7 separate regions of the Homo sapiens genome follow, and regions 1, 2, 3, 4, 5 and 7 are each linked to region 6. The links are contacts of gene promoters, found by promoter capture Hi-C in blood cells and fetal thymus (Javierre and others, 2016). All regions are on one chromosome and are shown on one strand. The core of a region is centred on a gene start or on the middle of the fragment in contact, and the rest is flanking DNA. Distances in the headings are between cores, read along the strand shown. Region 1 has its middle 50 kb from the start of TRAM1. Region 2 holds the start of LOC105375890 (a long non-coding RNA gene). Region 3 overlaps XKR9 (XK related 9). Region 4 overlaps LACTB2-AS1 (LACTB2 antisense RNA 1). Region 5 overlaps LACTB2 (lactamase beta 2). Region 6 holds the start of SLCO5A1 (solute carrier organic anion transporter family member 5A1). Region 7 overlaps TRAM1 (translocation associated membrane protein 1).

The links. Contacts are between HindIII fragments. The CHiCAGO score rates a contact against its expected background, and 5 or more counts as called.
Region 1: a fragment that was not itself captured here is called in contact with the fragment with the promoter of SLCO5A1 in region 6 in 1 of 17 cell types (neutrophils); the score reaches 6.0 in neutrophils.
Region 2: a fragment that was not itself captured here is called in contact with the fragment with the promoter of SLCO5A1 in region 6 in 3 of 17 cell types (naive B cells, total B cells and neutrophils); the score reaches 7.0 in naive B cells.
Region 3: a fragment that was not itself captured here is called in contact with the fragment with the promoter of SLCO5A1 in region 6 in 1 of 17 cell types (total B cells); the score reaches 6.0 in total B cells.
Region 4: a fragment that was not itself captured here is called in contact with the fragment with the promoter of SLCO5A1 in region 6 in 3 of 17 cell types (total B cells, naive B cells and neutrophils); the score reaches 8.8 in total B cells.
Region 5: a fragment that was not itself captured here is called in contact with the fragment with the promoter of SLCO5A1 in region 6 in 1 of 17 cell types (total B cells); the score reaches 7.3 in total B cells.
Region 7: a contact is called between a fragment that was not itself captured here and the fragment with the promoter of SLCO5A1 in region 6, in 1 of 17 cell types (total B cells). The highest score is 7.5, in total B cells.

The regions. Positions count from the first base shown.
Region 1 is chr8:70,557,253-70,559,969 of GRCh38, forward strand. No RefSeq gene overlaps it. Among named protein-coding and RNA genes, the nearest start is that of TRAM1, 50 kb to the right of the region's middle. The HindIII fragment of the contact is 2,079 bases long and covers 429-2,507 here.
Region 2 is chr8:70,533,770-70,536,507 of GRCh38, forward strand. It overlaps LOC105375890 (a long non-coding RNA gene), which reads right to left and starts at 2,176. Exons shown (of 3, transcript XR_929030.3): 1 at 1,445-2,176. The HindIII fragment of the contact is 3,569 bases long and covers 1-2,738 here.
Region 3 is chr8:70,673,738-70,676,733 of GRCh38, forward strand. It overlaps XKR9 (XK related 9), which reads left to right. Exons shown (of 5, transcript NM_001011720.2): 2 at 1,081-1,162. Among named protein-coding and RNA genes, the nearest start is that of XKR9, 5.9 kb to the left of the region's middle. The HindIII fragment of the contact is 837 bases long and covers 874-1,710 here.
Region 4 is chr8:70,613,398-70,616,435 of GRCh38, forward strand. The region is part of intron 1 of LACTB2-AS1 (LACTB2 antisense RNA 1); the gene reads left to right. Among named protein-coding and RNA genes, the nearest start is that of LACTB2-AS1, 6.3 kb to the left of the region's middle. The HindIII fragment of the contact is 4,125 bases long and covers 1-3,038 here.
Region 5 is chr8:70,639,596-70,642,471 of GRCh38, forward strand. It overlaps LACTB2 (lactamase beta 2), which reads right to left. Exons shown (of 7, transcript NM_016027.3): 5 at 1,307-1,455. All of the region lies in intron 1 of LACTB2-AS1 (LACTB2 antisense RNA 1), which reads left to right. Among named protein-coding and RNA genes, the nearest start is that of LACTB2, 28 kb to the right of the region's middle. RefSeq lists an enhancer at 2,467-2,516. The HindIII fragment of the contact is 1,320 bases long and covers 671-1,990 here.
Region 6 is chr8:69,833,592-69,836,408 of GRCh38, forward strand. SLCO5A1 (solute carrier organic anion transporter family member 5A1) reads right to left here and starts at 1,387. Exons shown (of 10, transcript NM_030958.3): 1 at 1,263-1,387. SLCO5A1-AS1 (SLCO5A1 antisense RNA 1) reads left to right here and starts at 521. Exons shown (of 4, transcript NR_186568.1): 1 at 521-602. RefSeq lists an enhancer at 1,143-1,222 and a silencer at 1,543-1,652. The HindIII fragment of the contact is 8,160 bases long and covers 1-1,935 here.
Region 7 is chr8:70,594,478-70,597,487 of GRCh38, forward strand. TRAM1 (translocation associated membrane protein 1) reads right to left here. Exons shown (of 11, transcript NM_014294.6): 5 at 1,786-1,844; 6 at 29-113. Among named protein-coding and RNA genes, the nearest start is that of TRAM1, 12 kb to the right of the region's middle. The HindIII fragment of the contact is 170 bases long and covers 1,404-1,573 here.

The DNA of each region.
Region 1 (2,717 bases), core at 218-2,717, 720 kb after region 6:
CCATATCAACAAAGAAATGACTTCTAGGTTTCAACTAGGGCTTTCTGTTCCCAGAGAATGATTGATGATTCTGCAGTTATGGAATTTCTCTTTGAAGATGAAGCTGAACCCAGCCTCACATCTCTTTTGAATTTTTTAAAGCTTCCTACATGTATTAGGGTGTAGGTAAGCCACTGATATAGTTTCGGTATTTGTCCCCTCCAAATCTTATGTTGAAATGTGATCTCCAATGTTGAAGGTGGGGCCTACTGGGAGGTGTTTGAGTCATGGGGGTGGATCCCTTGTGAATGACTTTGTGCCCTCCCCAAAGTAATGAGTTTGTGTGAGATGTGGTTGTTATAGAGACTGGAACTTTCCTCCTCTTTCTCTTGTTCCCCTTCTAACCATGTGACACATCTACTTCCCCTTCACCTTCCACCAGGAGTAAAAGCTTCCTGAGGCCTTATGAGAAGCTGAGCAGATGATGATGCTATGTTTCTTGTACAGCCTGCAGAACCATTAGCCAATAAACCTGTTATCTTTAAAAATTACCTAGCCCCAGGGGTTCCTTTATAGCAATGCAAAACAAATGGATACAACCACCAATCATTGTAACATATTCCTGGTAGTCTTCAAGGCCTTAATTCTACAGAATTGAATTTACTTCTTAAAAACCATACTTAATTTTTCATTTACTTAGTATATACAGTATAGATATTTTCCCTTCAGACCTAAGTGACAAATAACCGGTGTCACATTGTTTGTATGTTGTCATTCCTTTGAAATGGAAAAGGACCACTATAGGTGATCCTGAGGTCACTAGTGACTTAGATGAGGTTGATTAAATTGCATTGATAATTAAATTATAGGCCAAGTGCTGTGACTCACACCTGTAATTCCAGCACTTTGGGAGGCTGAGGCAGGTGGATTGCTTGAGCGCAGGAGTTTGAGACCAGCCTGGGCAACGTGGTGAAACCCCCATCTTTATAAAAAATACAAAAATTAGCTGGGCGTAATGGTGTGCACCTGTAGTCCCAGCTACTCTGGAGGCCGATGTGAAAGGGTTGCTTGAACCCAGGAGGTGGTGGTTGCAGTGTGCTGAGATGGCGCCACTGCACTCCAGCCTGAGCGACAGAGCTAGGTAAATTATAATTGTTCTCATAAGTAACTTTACTGTGTTTTCTTTTTTTTGTTGTTGAGATGGAGTTTCGCTCTTGTTGCCCAGGCTGGAGTGCAATGGCACAATCTTGGCTCACCACAACCTCTACCTCCCGGATTCAAGCGATTCTCCTGCCTCAGTCTCCTGAGTAGCTGGGATTATAGGCATGCGCCACCAAGCCCGGCTAATTTTTTATTTTTGGTAGATACGGGGTTTCTCCATGTTGGTCAGGCTGGTCTCAAACTCCCAACCCCAGGTGATCCACCTGCCTCGGCCTCCCAAAGTGCTGGGATTACAGGCGTGAGCCACCGTGCCTGGCCGTATTTTCTTATATTTGATATAAGAAGAGAAAAGGATTAGTTCAGAAGGCAATCAGCAAGGACACAACAGAGTATGTACCTTAGTCTTCAGATTTCACTCTTTCACACATGACCCACACTTACATGTGGATGCCCCATGTACTGTCACATCCAGGCCTTCCAGCCCACTTGGAGAAATGTGAATTCTAGGACATTTTATGATATCAGTTCAAACTTCATGATAAACATTGTGTTGTAACGTTCTCATTTACCTAATGAAGTTTGATTCTTTACACTGGAAGGTTAGGCAACTCCAAGCAGCCAAAAATTCTCTAGAAGTTATATACATCAGCTAAATGGAAATATGGCCCCATAAACCATAGATATCTGACTTTAAAAAGTCATTCCTTAGAAACCATACCTACAACTCGCTTTTATAATTATTATATCACATAGGTATAAATGATTCAGCACAGACTTGGATGTTTGATTTATGAATGTTTGTGTTGGTGAAGCATGCCTGCACAGTCATCCAATGATTCAGTGTAACTTTGCTGGCTGTAATGTTGGCTTGAACATTTCTTGCAACTTTATTGGCCCATCTGCTCCAGAGTAGAGTCGTGGAACACTGTGCTTGCATTGCATGGCATGAATGCTGAACAGTGTTGTGAAACTTCAACATAAAACAGAAAAGTGGTAACAGCAGTGACAATTACTGCTGTGTTTGTCACAACCTTATGAGCTAGCAACTAACATTTAATAAACATCAGGCATAGGGCTATGCACAGTTCATGTTCATATCTTGTGGAGTAGGTGTTATTACCACAGAAAACTGTGGTACAGACATTTAATCACACAGAGCTGATCAGTGGAGGAGTCACGATTTGAACTCTGGTTAGCTAGTCTTACCACTGTGTAACTATTCATAATAACTGAAATCAATAAGGCTATTTATCACTTGAGTTGATTGAAGTTTGGATCTTCAAAATATGACTGTTTTCTTCAGTAAACTTAAATTAGGTCAAAGTTAAGTTACTAATAGTCACAAAAGAGAGTATAACATGGACCTAAGCTTCTTAAATTTTTTATTTGCTTGTTTTCAGGATACCCAAAATGTTTGATTTCAGCCTTGAACAACTACATTAATAATCTTTTGGCCGGGCGCGGTGGCTCACGCCTGTAATCCCAGCACTTTGGGAGGCCGAGGCGGGTGGATCATGAGGTCAGGAGATCGAGACCATCCTGGCTAACAAGGTGAAACCCCGTGTCTACTAAAAATA
Region 2 (2,738 bases), core at 60-2,559, 700 kb after region 6:
AGAGTGATGATTACATGGATAGTTTCTACAGTCCTCTTAAAACTGTAGAGACCAGACTAGATTTTCCTTAAGTCCTTTAATCATCTTTGTGGTTTTTTGCAGAACCTTCTCCAGTTTTTCAAAATTCCACTTCAATTGTGGAGACCACAGCTAGATTAGTCACCGTAGAGAACCCATTATAATTAGCTCAACACTGTGCAGTTGCTTGGGCGGCTGACTCGGCCATGAAAACCCAGTCGGCCAGTCCCCATCGACACATAGGTTGTGTTCCAGGAGTTCATTAGTAAGTCGGTTGTTTGGAACACAGAAAGCCTTTCCCCATAGAAACAGAATTATAGATGGTGGCTTGTTTCCCAGGCCAGTGCACAAAAATCTATTTAATGCACATGCAGCTGAACCAGGGCCAGTCCCTTAAGTCTTGGACTTGCCTGATCCCCAGTGGAGCCCCCAGTCTCATGGAGCCCTGAGAACCTCTGAGCCTCAAGCATCCAACCACAAGGCCTCTGAGAGAGGTGAGAATTGGGCTGACAATTTTAGAGTGAGAATCATTTGCAGCATGATTATGAAAAACACTTCTTTGGAAGACTTAACCTGCAATCGTGCTTACTGTTATTAGAAAGCAATCAAGTTACCCTATGATAAATACACCGACTATATGCGGATATTGTACCTAAATCTACCTAAATTACCTTTAATTTTCACAGTACTCCTGTAAGAAAATGACTCTCTTTCTCAGTATTCCCATTTTGCCTGTGTCTTAAGGAGACTGTGGCCCAAGGTCAGGCAGATAGAAGGTGGCAGAACTGATGTTGGAGATCTGGCCTTCTGTCTCGTAAAGCTGAGACCTTTTCACTGCACAACACTGCCTCCCAGTGGACTGTGCTTAACACTGAACCTCGCGTGGCTGAGCCAACCACGTATACTCTGCGGGTGCACTTAACAAGTTCTTCATTCATACATCCAACAAAGAATCTTTGAGTGCTTCCAATGAGCGAGGCCTCGGGAACACAAAATCAAATTAGACGTGGTGTTCTCATAGAGTGGTTGGGAAAGGGAATAAGTAAATCAACGATTGAAATCTATGAGATGGAATGTAATTAAATTTTAAAAGAGAAAAAGATAACATAGAAACCCAGCAGAGAGATGTATTGGTCAGACAGACGAGGATGGTGGTGGACCAGAAAGTCCCTGTGCTCCCCTAGCTTTCACCTCCTGTCCTCAGACTATACCATCCACCGTCTACCACACCTACTGATACCGTCATCAGTTGAGCTGAGCCCCTCACATCTCCATCATTTTAGCTTTTAGCTTTCTGTAAGTCTCTCCGAAACCACGTCAGCCTTTGTTCCTGGTGATTTTAATATCCACGCTGATGACTGCTTCTGTACCCAGGCCTCTCAGCACCTTTAACTCCCCTTGTCATCTACCCACCTCAGTCACTTACCTCAGTGGTCGTTCTCTAGACCTGGTCACTGCCAAGAACTGCAACTCCTCTACAATCTCAGTTTATCATCTCGTCCATGGCACACGAAAGTGAGAGCGGCTGGAGGCTGCTAAATGCCCAGGAGGATGGGGTGAAACCCCACCTTCCAGCCAAAAACACTGAACTGCTGGTCCCAGATGAAACCCGCGACACAGGCTGAGTATTTCTGTTCCTTTTTGCCCCCGCTCTTTCCTGATTAATTATTTCTAAATAATGCGTTTTAACCGATCAAGCGTTGCCTTTTCCAATACTACCTATGACCTGCCCCTCCCCTATTCTAAGCCTATAAAAAGCTCGTGACCCAGCCACGAGGGGAGGAAAAAACCATCCGACTAAGGGGGTGGGCGACCACCCCCCAGAGTCCCTTCTCCGCTAATTGCTGTTCCCTTGCTCAATAAAATTCTTCTCCGCCCTCTTCACCCTTCAATGTCCAACGTATCCTCATTCTTCTCAGGCGTGGTACAAGAGCTTGGGAACTGCCGAACGCGGGTACAAGAGCTTGGGAACCGCCGAACGTGGGTACAAGAGCTTGGGAACCGCCGAACGCGGATAGAAGCTATAACACAGGCGAGCTGGGGCATGCCAGCGTGGCTGAGCAGGGCGCGGGTGGGGCATCGCTGGCCGGAGGTCCCGGTTTGCAAAGTGACCGAGAAGAAAAATCCTGCATCAAAAGTTACAGTTGCTGCCGGGAGCTGTGGCTCATGCCTGTAATCCCAGCACTTTGGGAGGCTGAGGTGGGCAGATCATGAGGTCAGCAGTTCGAGACCAGCCTGGCCAACATGATGAAACCCCATCTCTACTAAAAATACAAAAATTAGCCGGGCGTGGTGGCGAGTGCCTGTAATCTCAGCTACTTGGGAGGCTGAGGCAGGAGAATTGCTTGAACCTGAGAGGTGGAGGTTGCAGTGAGCTGAGATAGCACCACTGCACTCTAGTCTGGGTAACAGAGCAAGACTCCATCTGGGGAAAAAAAAAAGTTCCAGTTGCTGGCATCTTCTGCATTTGTGTTGCCAATCCTTTTAATTCTAGCCATTCTGGTGAGATTGTAATTGTAATAACATTGAAATGGTATGCATTTCTCTGATAAGGAAATAAAGTACTTTTATATACATTTATTGGACATTGGAATATCATTTTCGTGAAGTGTCTTGTTCATTTGCTACGGGATTGTCTGTCTTTATTGATTAATACAAGTTCTTTATATGATAAATATATTGCAAATAATTTCCTTTATTCTGTCACTTGCCCTCTTATT
Region 3 (2,996 bases), core at 42-2,541, 840 kb after region 6:
CTGAGTGACAGAGTGAGACTCCATGTCAAAAAAAAAAAAGATACAAAATTAAGTCTTTGTGAATATGTTTAGAAATGTGACTTGAAGTTTAAGTTCCTCTCCAAGAAATCAGATCAAATATTTTTCACGTTCTGTTCAGTTACACTTACAATAGTTTATTATCTACTTACAACATGCAAGGTAATGTTGTAGACATATTGAGGGCATGTTAAAAATGAATAAGATAATCTTTGCTTTCTAGAGGGTCATAACCATGAAGGAGATACTTTTAAAGTATATATGGGTTCAGGTATGGTGGCATGAGCCTGTAATCCTAGCACTGTTGGGAGGCTGAGTCTGGAGGAGTGCTTGAGCCCAGGAGTTCGAGGTTATAGTGAGCTATGATTGTGCCACTGCACTCCAGCCTGAGTGATGGAGCAAGACCTTGTCTCTTAAAAAAAAGCATATGTGGGTAAATACTAGAAGAGAAGTACAGCTGAAGTGATGAGATTGCAAGGAGAAAGGGGAGAAACATACTGGGATGATCTGGGAAAGCCTAAAGATGGTGGGTTTTGAGCTGATTCTTAAAGGATTGACAGAATTTCATCAGATAGATGGCAGTTATTCTAGACAGCAGTAAATAACCTTGAGCAAAGGCTTGGAAATGGAAGAAAAGTAGTGCTTATTTTGGGAATACAGACCAACAATCATATGCTCTTTGGGGCACAAGATTTGAGAAGGTATAAGGTTGAAAAGTAGGTAGGGCTGAGTTTATGATACTTTGTTAGAGTACTTCAAATTTAAGAACCTCCTTTTCAAACATGACATGTTATCCATTTGGATATGTTGTGAGACAAATTGTATTTTCTTGACTTATTTGACAAATACAGTGAAAGCTTGGAGCCTAGTCAGCCTATGAAAGGACCTATGCTATTTCTTCCTCTCAATGAGATAGTTATAAAAGGGTGTACTGTATTCACAATGACACAGACTCTTATCACTAGATTAGAAAATGCCACATATGACTAACAGGTGATTTCAGTTTCATTTTAGTATTCGATCTTAAAGGTTTACACATCCTTTAATTATACTTGTTTTTAGTGAAGAAGAAGTAAAATATTCACAAGATGAAGATTTTTCCAGAAGGGACTTTGAGTCAAAGATGGCTTTTTATATTTGACAAGTAAGTCTATGTTTTATATGTGTTATATTTGGTTGACAAGGGAAAGTTTCCTAGTTTTAATTTCTTTAAATATCTGCTTTATCTCAGATAGTTGTACAGTGGGCAAAAGTTACGTATTTCGGCTCGCAGCCAGGTAGCCACATAGCTAGGTTGATATTTGGAATTGGATTGAAACCGTTTGTGTTAAGCCATTCTTGCATTGCTGTAAAGAAATACTTGAGACTAGGTAATTTATAAGAAACGAGGGCCAGGTGCAGTTGCCCATTCTTGTAATCCCAGCACTTTGGGAGGCTGAGGTGGGTGGGTCACTTGAGGTCAGGATTCGAAATCAGCCTGCCCAATATGGCGAAACCCCGTCTCTACTAAAAATACAAAAATTAGCTGGGTTTGGTGGTGTGCACCTGTAGTCCCAGCTACTTGGAGAGGCTGAGGCAGAAGAATCACTCGAACCCACTGTCTTTGATATTAGCACTTGGCTCCCTTTTAGTTTTGCAAATATCTTTAGCAAGTGGTTGCTGTACAGCCTGCTTAAAGTCCTCTTCTGAAGAAGCTTTTTCTTTCTCTCTCACCTGGCCAGGCTGCACATTTTTCAAACTTTTATGCTCTGCTTCCTGTTTAAATATAAATTCAAATTTTCAGTCATTTTCTTGCTTCCACATCTGGGCATAGGTTGTTAGAAGCAGCTGGTCCATGTCTTGAATGCTTTGCTACTTAGAAATTTCTTCTGCCAGGTACCCTAAATCATCACTCTGAAGTTCAAACTTCCATAGATCTCTAGGGCACAAATACAATCCAGCCAAGCTTTTTGCTGAGGCATAACATGGGTGATCTTTGCTCCACTTCTGAATAAGTTACTCATTTCCATCTGAGACATCAGCAGCCTGGACTTCATTGTCCATATCATTATCGGCATTTGGGTCACAACCTTTAAGAAGCTCCAAACTTTCCCTCATCTTCCCTTCTTCTCTGAGTCTTACAAACTCTTCTAGCCTCTGCCTGTTACTCAGTTCTAACACTGTTTTCATGTTTTCAGGTATCTTTATAGCAAAACTTTACTACTGGTGCCAATTTTCTGTGTTAGGCCATTCTTGCATTGCTATAAAGAAATACCTGAGACTGGGTAATTTATAAGAAAATAAGTTTAATAGGCTCATGGTTCTTCAGGCTGTACAGGAAGCAAAGTGCCAGAATCTGCTTTTGGGGAGGCCTCAGGAAGCTTACAATCATGGCAGAAGGTGAAGAGGAAGCACGTGTCTCACGTGGAGAGAGCAGGAGCAAAAAAGAGAGTAGTGGGGGAGATGCAATGCTTTACAACAACCAGATCTCACTCACTATCGTGAGGACAGCACCAAACCATGAGAGATACACCCCTATGACCCAAAACCTCCAACCAGGCCCCACCTCCAACATGGGGGATTACAATTCAACATGAGATTTGGTAGGGACATATATTCAGATTATATCATTGTCCTATTAAGTCAGTAAGTGTAAGAAGTCCCCTATGAAGCCAAACTTTGTAGGTGGCATTATTTTACCTAAGGTGGTACTGGAATAGTGATCAACCATAGAGATAGAGATGAACTATTCTTAATACAAGTTATTCAACAATTGAAAGACCTGCAGCTCTCTTTATCAGATCCGCCGTATGTATTAGCTTGCTATGTAGGTTTCCTTCTACTTGGTGTTATGTTCTGCCTGACTAAATTAGGAATATGGATATTACCATATTAGATTAATCTATTGCATCTAATGTTCTGCCAGTAACAGTTTCTGTTTCTTGGAAATTATTCTTTCCATCTTGTAAAAGTTGACTCAAAACTGCTAGTGTTGGCCA
Region 4 (3,038 bases), core at 425-2,924, 780 kb after region 6:
CTTGAAGAGAGTGCCTTTATACAAATTTCCCCAAATCATCCAATTTAAACATGCCATTTGCTTCTGCTAGGACCCTGACTCTTATGGAGTCACTAGTGACCTTTAAGACAGTATTTTCTTTGGAAATGGTAGAAACAAATGGCTGACTGGAGTGGGTTCAAGAGAGAATGGGAAATGGCAAGATGGAGGCATGAGTATAAGCAACTCATTTGAGGGGATTTCCCTGCAAGGGAAGGCGGAGTAATGGGCACGTGGTGAAGAGAGGTGTAGGGAAGGGTTTTGCTTTTCTTTTTGGATGAGCTATATTATGATGTATTTGCATGCAGATGAGAATGATCTATAAGAAAGATTTATTCTACAGGAGTTGCTTGCAGAAGCAAAGTCCTTGAGCAGCTCAGAGTTGATGGCATGTAGTGCACAGCTGACCACAGTGACAAGATAGGGTGCCCACAGCAACCAGATAGAGGGCAGAATTTAGGGGTAGGCTGATAATGGCAAGATGAAGTTGTCTGCTTCTGATTGTTTCTGCTTTCTCAGTAAAATAGGAAACAAAATCATCAGGAGTGGAGATAGTGTGATGACATTTGAGAAGAGAATGGAGGAAAACTGTGGAGGGTGAGTAGATTAAAGGGATGTAATCAGACAGCAGGGCCCACTTGAGATTTGGGGCCATACATTTAAAGCGAGACTAGTAAGCAGAGCCACATAATTTTCTCCAGGCATATCTCCCTGTTTGGATACAGGTATGGAGAAGGCAGAATTGGGCTTTGCCAGGCCAGTATGACAAAGGATGTGGAGGATGTGCAAGGGTGAGGGCAGGGGTGATGAAGTGAAGGCCATGAGGTGGTGGTCATGCTTGTTATACTGTCACCCTCTGCCCTGAGAGTCCACCCTTTTCTGCTGTGAAAGGCAAATGTCTGCAGACTGCAGTACTGGGGCTCCCTCGCCCTTGACTTCCCATTGGAATGGGACTGGAAGTCTGTGGAAGACACTAGCCAAAAAACAGAGGGTTTGGGGATTTCTTTATACTCCCATCATCCCTCCTTGCCTTACTATGGTTCCAACAGTGACTATGTTTGTTCTCCTGTGGCCACTGCCTGTGTCAGGTAGCTTTTCTGTTACTGTTTCAGCTCTAAGTGGGCTCCAGGGACCTCATTCTCTCCCCCGCCGCTTCAGGCTGTTGGTTGTAATAGCTTCCCATGCTCTTACTCCCCGCATACTTCACCATCCCTTGTTGGTTCATTCAACCTGCTACTCCTCTGTGAATAAGCCCTTCATTAAGTGCTCTCCAGCTAAATTCTTTTGAATGGGCCATCTATTCCTTGCCAGTTCTCTGACAGAGACAGAGGACAGAGAAATAGTGCTAGGGCCTCTGAATTGGAGGCACCTATGGGGCTGAAGAATTGTTGTGGAGGGGGGCTGGCTGAGGAGGAAGTGGTGAGAGAGTGGGATGCTGGAAATGATTTCAGAGGTTGTGCAGTCACTGGCAATGAGATGCACAGGGTAGAAAGGTGGGAGTGGGTAGCTGAGGTGAATGGAGGAGGAGAGCTTTGAGAGTGAGAAGTCAAGGCAGTAGGAGGCTAAGGTGCTCAGCACATGGATGCTAAATCACCAAGAATGAGTGAAGGAGAAGAATGGAAAGGGAGCCAGTGAGGGAGCTGGGCACTAACATCTGCTGCAAATGAGGAAGAGCCTGAGAGGATGGCAGATGATTGCCACAGGAGGGTAGTGGGTGGTGTAGTTTCAGGGCATGGACTTCCAGAAAAGCTGGGGTTTTTGAGCAAGGGAGGAGAATTGTCTGTCAGCAGCAATGAGGACCATGAAAGACACCCATTCCACCCCTAGGCTCTGTGGTATGTGGTGCGTGGGAGGGAAGAAACAGCCACCTCTTGAGAAGGCTCCAGGGAAGCAGGTTTCAGTTTTCAGTTAGAGCTGCCTCCAGGTTTCTGAGCGAGAAGGTGAAGAAAACATTCAGAAAGAGGCAGAGGGTGTTGGGGATTTGGTAGATGGCACACCTGGAGCTTTGGGGGATACACTGCAAGAGTTTGGGGGCTGCGAAGGGGCTTTTGGCTTAAGCAAAATAAAAGGATGAATAGAGCTTTGTGGGGAGGAGATTGTGGTGATGATGGATAACAATGGAGGTTTGACTCTGGAGGTGACTAAGGTGGAAAGAGTTTTGAAGCATTACAGAATGATCCTGAGGTCTTTTAGGGGAATGTGGAGGTTTAATAATAATTTTAGCTTCTTTTTTAGGATTAGCCTCTTAAGTTTATAGTGAAAGGTGGCTGCCATTAAATTCTCCAAGCGTAGGTCATGGTGGTGGGGAAAGTGGTCCTACCAAGACACATGGGCTCTGGAGGCCTCCCTTAGCAGATTTTTCGTTTTGTTTTGTTTTAGAATGGGGACCAGGCTGGTCTCAGAATCCTGGCCTCAAGCAATCCTCTTGCCTTGGCATCCCAAAATGCTGGGATTACAGGGATGAGCTATCCCACCAGGGACCCCTCAGGCAGATTGATTTCTTATGTGTGTTCAGCTCTGGAGGCCACATTCCAAGTAAGTTAAGACTTTGGCAAACATAGCCTGGATCCTAAAATTCTCAGGATTCTTTTAATGACTGTAGGACAGAAGGCAGCTTTTTGGGATTAGATCTATCCAGGAAAATTTGTGGTACAAGGTTGCTGTAATTATGAGAAATATAAAAGAACAGAAATATGATCTTTGCCCTCAATGAGGTTGTGTTTATGTGGCCTTACAAGACATGTATAAGAATGAAAAACCTGTTCTGAGATGATGTGAAAGTAGGTACAAGAAATTACCTAATAGAAATAAGTTAGAACTAAAATGGGACTGTTTGATTTCAACCTCTCCTTGGGGACAAATTGATGAAAAGTAAGAAACGAATGTTTGTTACATGCTTATTAAATTCCAGGCATTTTGCCTTTACATATATCATTTGGTCTTCACATAAATCTTATAAAATAGGTGTTGTTGTCTTTATTTAAAGACAGAGAAGCTGAGGCTCAGAGATGTTAAGTAAT
Region 5 (2,876 bases), core at 81-2,580, 810 kb after region 6:
TTGGCCCTGTAATTTATTTATTAGGTTACAGGGTAATATCTTTGTATATTTTAATTTAAATTTAATTTTTTTAAAAAAGTTTTTGGGCCGGGCGCAGTGACTCATGCCTGTAATCCCAGCACTTTGGGAGGCTGAGGCGGGTGGATCACCTGAGGTCGGGAGTTCGAGACCAGTCTGACCAACATTGAGAAACACCATCTCTACTAAAAATACAAAATTAGCTGGGTATGGTGGCACATGCCTGTAATCCCAGCTACTCGGGAGGCTGAGGCAGGAGAATCGCGTGAACCCAGGAGGCAGAGGTTGTGGTGAGCCAAGATGGCGCCACTGCACTCCAGCCTGGGCAACAAGAGCAAAACTCCATCTCAAAAAAAAAAGTTTTTGAGATACAGTCTTGCACTGTCACCTAGGCTGGTGTGCAACGGTGCGATGTAGGCTCACTGCAGCCTTGACTTCCCAGGCTCATGTGATCCTCCCATCTCAACCACCCGAGCAGCTGGGATCACAGGCATGTTCCATGACACCTGGCTCATTTAAAAAATTTCTTGTAGAGATGAGGTCTCACTATGTTGCCCAAGCTTGTCTCGGACTCCTGGGCTGAAGCAAACCTCCCACTTAGCCTCCCAAAATACTGGGATTACAGGGGTGAGCCACCACGCCTGGCCACAAAAGCTTACATTTTTAACCTCTAAGCTATGCTGCCTACACAGCAGACATCTAATAAACATTTGCTGAAAAACTGAATTATACTGACTGCTATATAGTGCTGTCAATACAGTGATATTCTCAGAGGCCAGTGAGGTGTAAGGCTCTTTCCCTACATACTATTTTACTCATGTTCTTTGATTTTTTTTTTCTTTTTCTCCATTGTTTGGCATTGCTACTACTTCTCACTGCTTTGCTACTACTTCTCACTGTTAACATTCCAATATTTGTGTCTAGCAGGTCACCCCTCCTCTCTTGGTGCAGGCTGGGACACAAGATAATCAAGATGGCTAGAATAATGCAAAAATTATTACAAAATGTAATCATCAGGCTGTTGGTAGTTTCTCCTACATAGTTAGGCAGTTTCTCCTACATAGTTAAGTATATAAAGTTCAATGATGGCTCGAAATGGCTATCTTTGTTCTCTAAGGCCAGTTTTTGTTTAATTTTAGCACTGTAGAAAGTTTAGGCTGCTGGTCTCAAATCTAGAAAAGTGGCGTAACTTCTGATCTGGGATATAAGTTTATCATTTCTATAGTCTACTAAATAGATAATTCTAATAAATTTGTGGCTACATACAAATAAGAAAACTGAAAATTACCTTGTAAATAATTTTTACAAGCTCCATTACTGTAAATGATTTCTCAAAGTTCTCACGAAATAATGTAAGAATTTGCTGCTCTCGAATATTTCTGTGAGAAATGTATTGTTGAATTTTAGCTTCAGCATTATGAATTACTGGGCCATGTCCTGAATTAAAATAATTATAAGAGTTACTTCAGTCAGATAAAAAAATACTAAGTACAACAGAAGCTAACTCACTCTATTTAAAAATAATTCATATGATATATTGAAAAAGCATACTAAATGTCAAATATGAACTATTTGGAAAGCTATACAGGTGAAAGAGATTTAAAAATTATATACAATACCCCCCAATTAGAAAATTATAGCAAATACAATCTATAGAAAATATTGTGTACATTAAAAATATGGAATAGAAATTTAACAATAAAACACAGCAATAAAAATAGCAACTACAATAATAACAATAGGTAATGTTTATGGAGTGCTCACTATGTGCTAGGCACTGCCCTAAATGCTTAACATACATTATTCTTACAAGAATCCCATGAAGTAGGTACAATTATTACACATTTCTTATGGTAGAAACTGAGACATACGGAGGGTAAATAATCCGTCCACAGTTACATAGCTAAGAAGGGGTGGAGTTAGGATTCTGACAGGATCTCTTAACCACTCTGTGCTCTTGACCATTAGGCTAAGCTTATAAAATACTGCAAAAGGACAATGTAAAAAGCAGTTTCATGTACATGACCAAGCTCTATTAAAAATTCACAAGACCCACAGTAAAACTTTAAGAATCCTATGTATAGGCTTCTGTATGTCAGAAATTTTGACAACCCAGATTAAGTTATACTATAATTTACTTCCCCTTTAAGACAGTACACATTAATATTATATATTATATAAGTCTGCAAGAATGATGTTCTTAAATATTTGAGAACAAAATATCCAGAAGCAGGCTAACCTATTACGGGATCTGGTTAGACACAGACCTATCATTTATTTGCTGTGTGGCTAATAAATGAGGAAGTATCTGAATCTCTCTAAGCTGTTTCTTCTGCTGTGTGGTGAGGAAACCACTACCTACTTTACATGGGTTTTGGTGAGGATGACAACTGTAAAGGCCCCTGCACAAAACCTGATGGCTAGAAGACTTTAATATATGGTAGCTATGGCTACAGAGCATAATTTACATATAAACAACTGCTGTGCTAGTAAGCCAGTTCACTGGATTCACTAAAGCACTCTAGAATCTTTACTAGGTAGCCTCTCATTAGCTTAGCTTGAATGTGAATTCACTCAACGTCTGCCCTCTTCGCTTTAAAAATAGCTGTCTTTAGCAAAAACAAAGCAAAACAAACAAACAAACCCCCCCAAAGCTATCAGCCCGCAATCCTTTAATGTCATCATATAAATCTAAATGCCCAGCTCTACCGTATGTTTTCTATTCCCCCAGCAGTAGGAACTCATCGCAGAGTGTAAATGTGTTGAAGATACTGGATGGACGGATCTTTCAATGGCTTGGTTAATCGCAAGTTAGAAGAACTTAGGAAGTTAAGTGACCTAGTCCCTTTTTCCTTTTG
Region 6 (2,817 bases), core at 137-2,636:
CACAATGTATTCCCTGTCCCAATTTTTCTAAAAGGAAAAAAGAAGGTGGGGGTAAACTACGTGTGTAGAAATGTGTGTGCACACTGGTGTGCGTTGGCACGTGTGCGCGACTAGATTTGAATCTGTCTGCTCCACCAGAGACACACATTCAAAGCCGAAGGCAGCAGCAAAAAGGTCAACATGCTTGCCTCTTTATTCCCAACACCAAAAATAACCCCCTGACCGAAAGAACTCTTCAATTACAAATACCAGGGGCATTCGAGGCTGTGGCCCGCACTAAGTCCCAGAGCGCGGTATCAAACGAAACCGAAAATCCGTCTGCTTTGCCGAGAGCTAGGGAAGCCACAACCAAACAAAGAGATCCCGGCACGCTGTCAGAGAGCGCGCGAGGAGCCCACGGAGCCGGCTGGGCGCACGCGGGCCGGCGGGGAGGTGTGCTATTGACTGAGCGCACCCCGCTAGCGTGGGCCTGGGGAGCGTGTGCGCGTGCGCGGCCACACACACACACACACACACACACACACACACACACACACACCGGCGTACTGGAACCTCTCTCGCGATCCCGCACCCAGCTTGAATTCAGCAAGAATCGAAAACAGGTGTGCCCCCGTGGTAAGACCCCGCCCCTAATCTTGGGGACCCCCACTCCACTCCTCCAGCCTGGGGCAAGGACGGGGGGCGGAATATGCACCAGGTGGGAGACAGCCGAGCTTCACTACACTGGGTTTCATTTTGCAGCGCGCCTTTGTGATGCTGCTGAGAAAAGAAAGGAGGAAGGGCAAGGGAGAAAGGCAGAGAGGCTGGGCGGCCAAGGGTGGCCGCTCCGGCATCTCCCTCGGCTGTGCTGGGCCAAACCCGCTCCCAGATTCCCGGCCTGCCAGCCACTCACAATCCCGGGCTTCCCCGCCGCTGCCTTACCCAGGCGCCTTCCCGGGGAACCCCACCAGCCGCTGCGTGAGGAGCCGGGGAATCCCAGCAAACTCTCGCCGCTCGCGGGGGGCGTCCGAACCCCCTGCTTAGGCGAGCGCCCTCACAGCATCGCAGACTCGGATGGACACGCGGATCCCGGCAGGGAGCTCTTGGAGCAGGCGTGGAATCCCAGGGACACCCCCTGCGCGCACATCACATACACGCACATCCTACACACACACACACACACACACACACACACACACACACACACACAGAGCCCGTGGGAAGACAAGACCGCCGGCGACAGCCCGCCGCGCTGCCCGGGCGCTCAAGCCGCCGCTACTCACTAGCGAGTCTGTCAGTCTGTCTGCCTGGCTGAGTAGAGCGGCGGGAGGGGGGCACTGAGCTACGGGAATAGTTGGGAGCCGCGTGAGGAGGCAGCCTCCGTCCAGCCGAAGAGAAATCAGTGAATGAGACTGTGACTCAGGCTGAACTCTTCCCCCCACCCCTCGCCTGTCACCCAAGCCTCTCCTCCGCTCCAAACAGACACACGCGCACAGAGACGCGCCCGGAGAGGAGCAGCCGAGGGCGCAGGCGCGAGGGCAGCCACCCAGCCCAGCCCTCCCACAGCCAGCCACCCCGCTGCCCTTCACCTGCGTGGCTGCGGGGGCCCAAGAGCGCTGAAGCCCCGAGGGAGCCGGTCTCTAGAAAAGTCAGCGGCTGAAGCTGACAGCCCACTCTGAATAAATAAATCATTTCTGATCGTTTATTCCGTGCCTTGGGCACACACCATGTCTCATTCACCATAGTAGATTCTGGGACCAAAGATAAACAAGACAAGATACTTGGTCGGAGGAAACCTCTGGCTTGTGGGGGAAATACTCATGTAAATGGCTTAAAACAACGTGGTACATCTATGCAGCCTGCTACTGGAGTAGCCAATATCCATTAGCCTTCATTTCCACGCAGCAGGAAGAACAGAGGCACGGGGGCATGGTGCTGCCAGTCAATAGGTAGATAAGCTTCCTAGAAGATTGCAGGGATGGGGCAGAGGACCAGACTGCAAGAGTGGCTGAGTAGAAAGGGGCACTACGGGTTTCCTAAGTTGTGTACTGTCAATAATGTGGGGGCAATGACGTTCTGACTTCCTCACCAGAGAGCTGGCTCTGGCAGTGACAGGTAGACAGATGTGAGGCCACACTGCGGGCACAGAAGTGAGTTGGGAGGCAGTCTGAAAGCAAAATGTGATGAGGCATTGGCAGGGGGCATGGAGAGGAGGGAACTGGGCAGCTGATGCAATCTGCAAGAGAAGAAAACCAGCCGAGGTAGGATGACTCCCAAGTTTCTAGCACCAAGTTGGGTGACTACGTGCCTGACAGCCAATAAAAGCACAGGTGGAGAAACATGCTTTAGGAGAAAGATTGTTCTCATCTACATGTGTTGAGTTTGAAATGTTTGGGGGACATCCCAGTGTACGTGTCCCATAAGCCACTGGACACACAGGAGGTTTGGACTAGGAATATTGATCAGTAGTCATCAGCCCAAAGGTGGCATGAGAAAGGATGGAATGAATAGGGAAGATCATCCAAATTGTGAAGAATCTAGGAGGACAGCGTACAGCCAAAGGAAGGAGACTGGAAGCAAGGGTCAGAGAGGTGTGGGACGCATCAGAAAAGCCAAAAGAGCAGACGACTGTAAGAAGGGAAGGGTCAGATGTGTACAGGCTGCAGGGAAGACAAACAGGATGATAACTGAAAAAAAAAAAAAAAAAGAGTATCTGAGGGCACTTGTGACCATTGACAGAGCAGGATAGTGCTCTAATGGAGGAAAGGAGGTTGCTCACAAGTACCAGTGACCATGCTGGCCATTGCTGCCAGGTCGAAGCCCCTCCACTGGCCCTTG
Region 7 (3,010 bases), core at 239-2,738, 760 kb after region 6:
TTTTTAACACTACAAAATCCCAGCTTACTTTTTTGGTTTTCTGGAAGTAGAGTTCAGGAAAAGCATGAAGCCAGTAAGCCAGCTGTGATATGTAGAAAAACTTCATTTGAAATCTGTACAACACAAGAAAATGAAGAGTACCTTTTAAAGCATAATTTTTTTAAAAAAAAGTAAACAAATACTGGAAATCAGGATATACTAAGTAACTACCTTTGTGTCATCATTCCATACAATATCTGTGCACCTTTAAACAACTCTTCAACAACCTCTTTCCCCATCTCCCTGTGACAGTCCCACCATTGGACAAGACCCCTGGATTAAACAGCAGGCAAAGATACTATCTGCAGAAAGCTATTGACATGTAAGCCAGTTGGGAGGAGTCAGAGCCCCTATTAGTTCATTAATACTGACTAGTATGTCATGTTAGCTACTGAAAACATAACCCACATGTCTATACAGTTTCATCAAGACAAGAAGGGGAAAAAGACTGACACAAAAGCAAAGGCTCATAGATTAATAATCACCTGAAACTGGAATAATCCCAATTTCAAATATCCTCTGTTTTTTTTTTTTTTCTTAGGCAAATATGGTAACTGTACCTGGTTGGAACATGGAGAAAGCCCCAAATAAATGGAGGCAGAGCTAGGATTAAAGACAGTCAGAATAAGGCACACAAGGGCTCTCCAGGAGCTATATCATAATCAGTCTAGAACCAATACTCTCCTCTTGACATTATATCCCTCTAGCCCTTCTGCTTCCTCTTTATTCTCCCTGCTCCTTCTCCTCCAGAAGTCTAAAATAGAAAACACAAAGCCAACCTAATTTCTTGGTGGTCGGGGTGGAGAGAATACAGTCCCACATAAATATAATATTTACAAAGTTCGTTGAACTAATAAAACTTTAGAAATCAGAGTATGATTCAGTAGAGTGGGTATTACTGCTAGACTTAAAATACCCACAGTCAGGTTATTCCCTTCTTTCCTTCGTATCTTCTCCCTTCTCCAATTCTCACATCACAATGTATTTACTAAATACTGTGTAGGTGACAAGCACTTGCAATGTACCTGGCACAATGAAGGATATAAAATAGTTTTTACCGCTACCAAGGCACATATAGTCTTAGTGGGTATGGGCACAATACAAGACTTACAAAAATGAGACAATTATAGAACAATCAAAACAATATATAGACACTACATCAAATTTCTACCAAAATGACAAATTTGGGGATACAAAAGACCAATACAGGCTAAAATAGCAAGGAAAATTAATATAGAATAGTTGTACTAGAGCTGGGCTCGAATAATGAATTATTCAGACGTCTTGGTAACCACTGAGCACTTTAACCCAGCAGCACTGTACAGACTAGAGAAATAAAAAAGAAACAATTCCTAACCTCAAGAAGCTTATAATAGGAGAAAGAAAGGAAGATGTGAAAAGAGACAGGGGGTGGGGACAAAGAAAAGGAGCAAAAATATAGAGAAGATGGAGTCATAAAAAGGAGAAAGTATGAGTGAAAAGAAGGGAAAAGAAGCGAGTACCAAATTAAGTTATGTTAAAATCAGTTGTCTCAAGCTTACAAAGATGTTGAAAAGATTAGAATAGAAACATTAAAAAAAGGTACACAGCTTTTTTTTTCTTACGGCAGTGGGACTGTCAAAGACATATTTTCATCTATTTTATGCATTTGCCTAAGGTCCTAAAGAGAATAACAAGAATGAATTCTGATTAATAGTGACATGACCATGGTCCTTAACAAAGAAAGGGCTGCTAAAAATGACTTACGTCATCAGGTTATGGGGATAAGCCCTCCATAAGATAGTTGGGTCTGAGATGTAGTTTTCCTAAGAAAGAAGATATAAAAATTAACCTGTGAGCATAATGCAAACTTCTTGGAAAATAAGGCATTACTTTCATTTCTCAAACATTTACAGGTCCCATACCAGGTTGCAAAGAACCCACTAATGTCAAAATCCTTAGTTGTTTTAGTTATTTTCAAGCCAATTTGAGTTGGTTACTTGAGCAAAATGAAAATCAATGATAGAAATGAGATATGGAATCAGGTAAGACATAATTCCTGGCCCTAAAAAATCTTTCAATCCCATAGAATAAAAATACACGTACACAAACAAACATAAAACCACCAATAAGAGGCACAACAGTGACCAGGAGAGAAGAATTTTGTCTTAGGTAATCAGAAGATTTCAGGAAAAGTTTGTAGCATCTGACAGGAGACAAAGGATCAGGGTGCTACCGAGTTTTATGGAATTACGTCAATAAAATACTGCCCCAATTTTTTTCTTAGATAATCAGATCTACTCAGTGAGAATTACTGCATATGTAAAAAAAAAAAAAAAAAGATTAAAAAATAAATAAAATCTAAAGTGATTTTTGTAAGAGTATTTTCCCACAGAAGTATAACTTTTATGTTTTTTTAAAAAAATGTATAATAGTTTTTAAACTAAAATTTACATATTACCTATAAAGTATTATTAAAGCAGCACAGTAAAATGGAATGAGCAATGGAATAAAAAGCTGAGTTTTAGTCTACTTCCAACATGAAGTGCTTTACCCTGGAAAACTCACTGTTATTCATCTCTAATACAGTGATTAGAAAGAATTATGTGTCTGACAAACTCAAAAGTATGTAAACTATGGAACACCATATAAATTTAAGGGATTGTTATCACTAATATTAAAGCAAATACTGCCTTTCTTTTTCTCATTAGTTAGAGTGATACAACTAAAGGTTTTGATTGCCATAACTGAAAAGTTATACAACATTTAAGAAGCTTGGAAAACACTGGGGCTGTTTTTAAAGGAGGAAATGACTGTGAACATTACAACTCATGTAACCTACGCTTTTTGCTGATACAGAGGTATCTGTAAACCACTATAAGATACAAAAGTAAGGCCGGGCTTGGTGGCTCAAGCCTGTAATCCCAGCACTTTGGGAGGCCGAGGCGGGTGGATCACGAGGTCAGGAGTTCGAGACCATCCTGGCCAACAT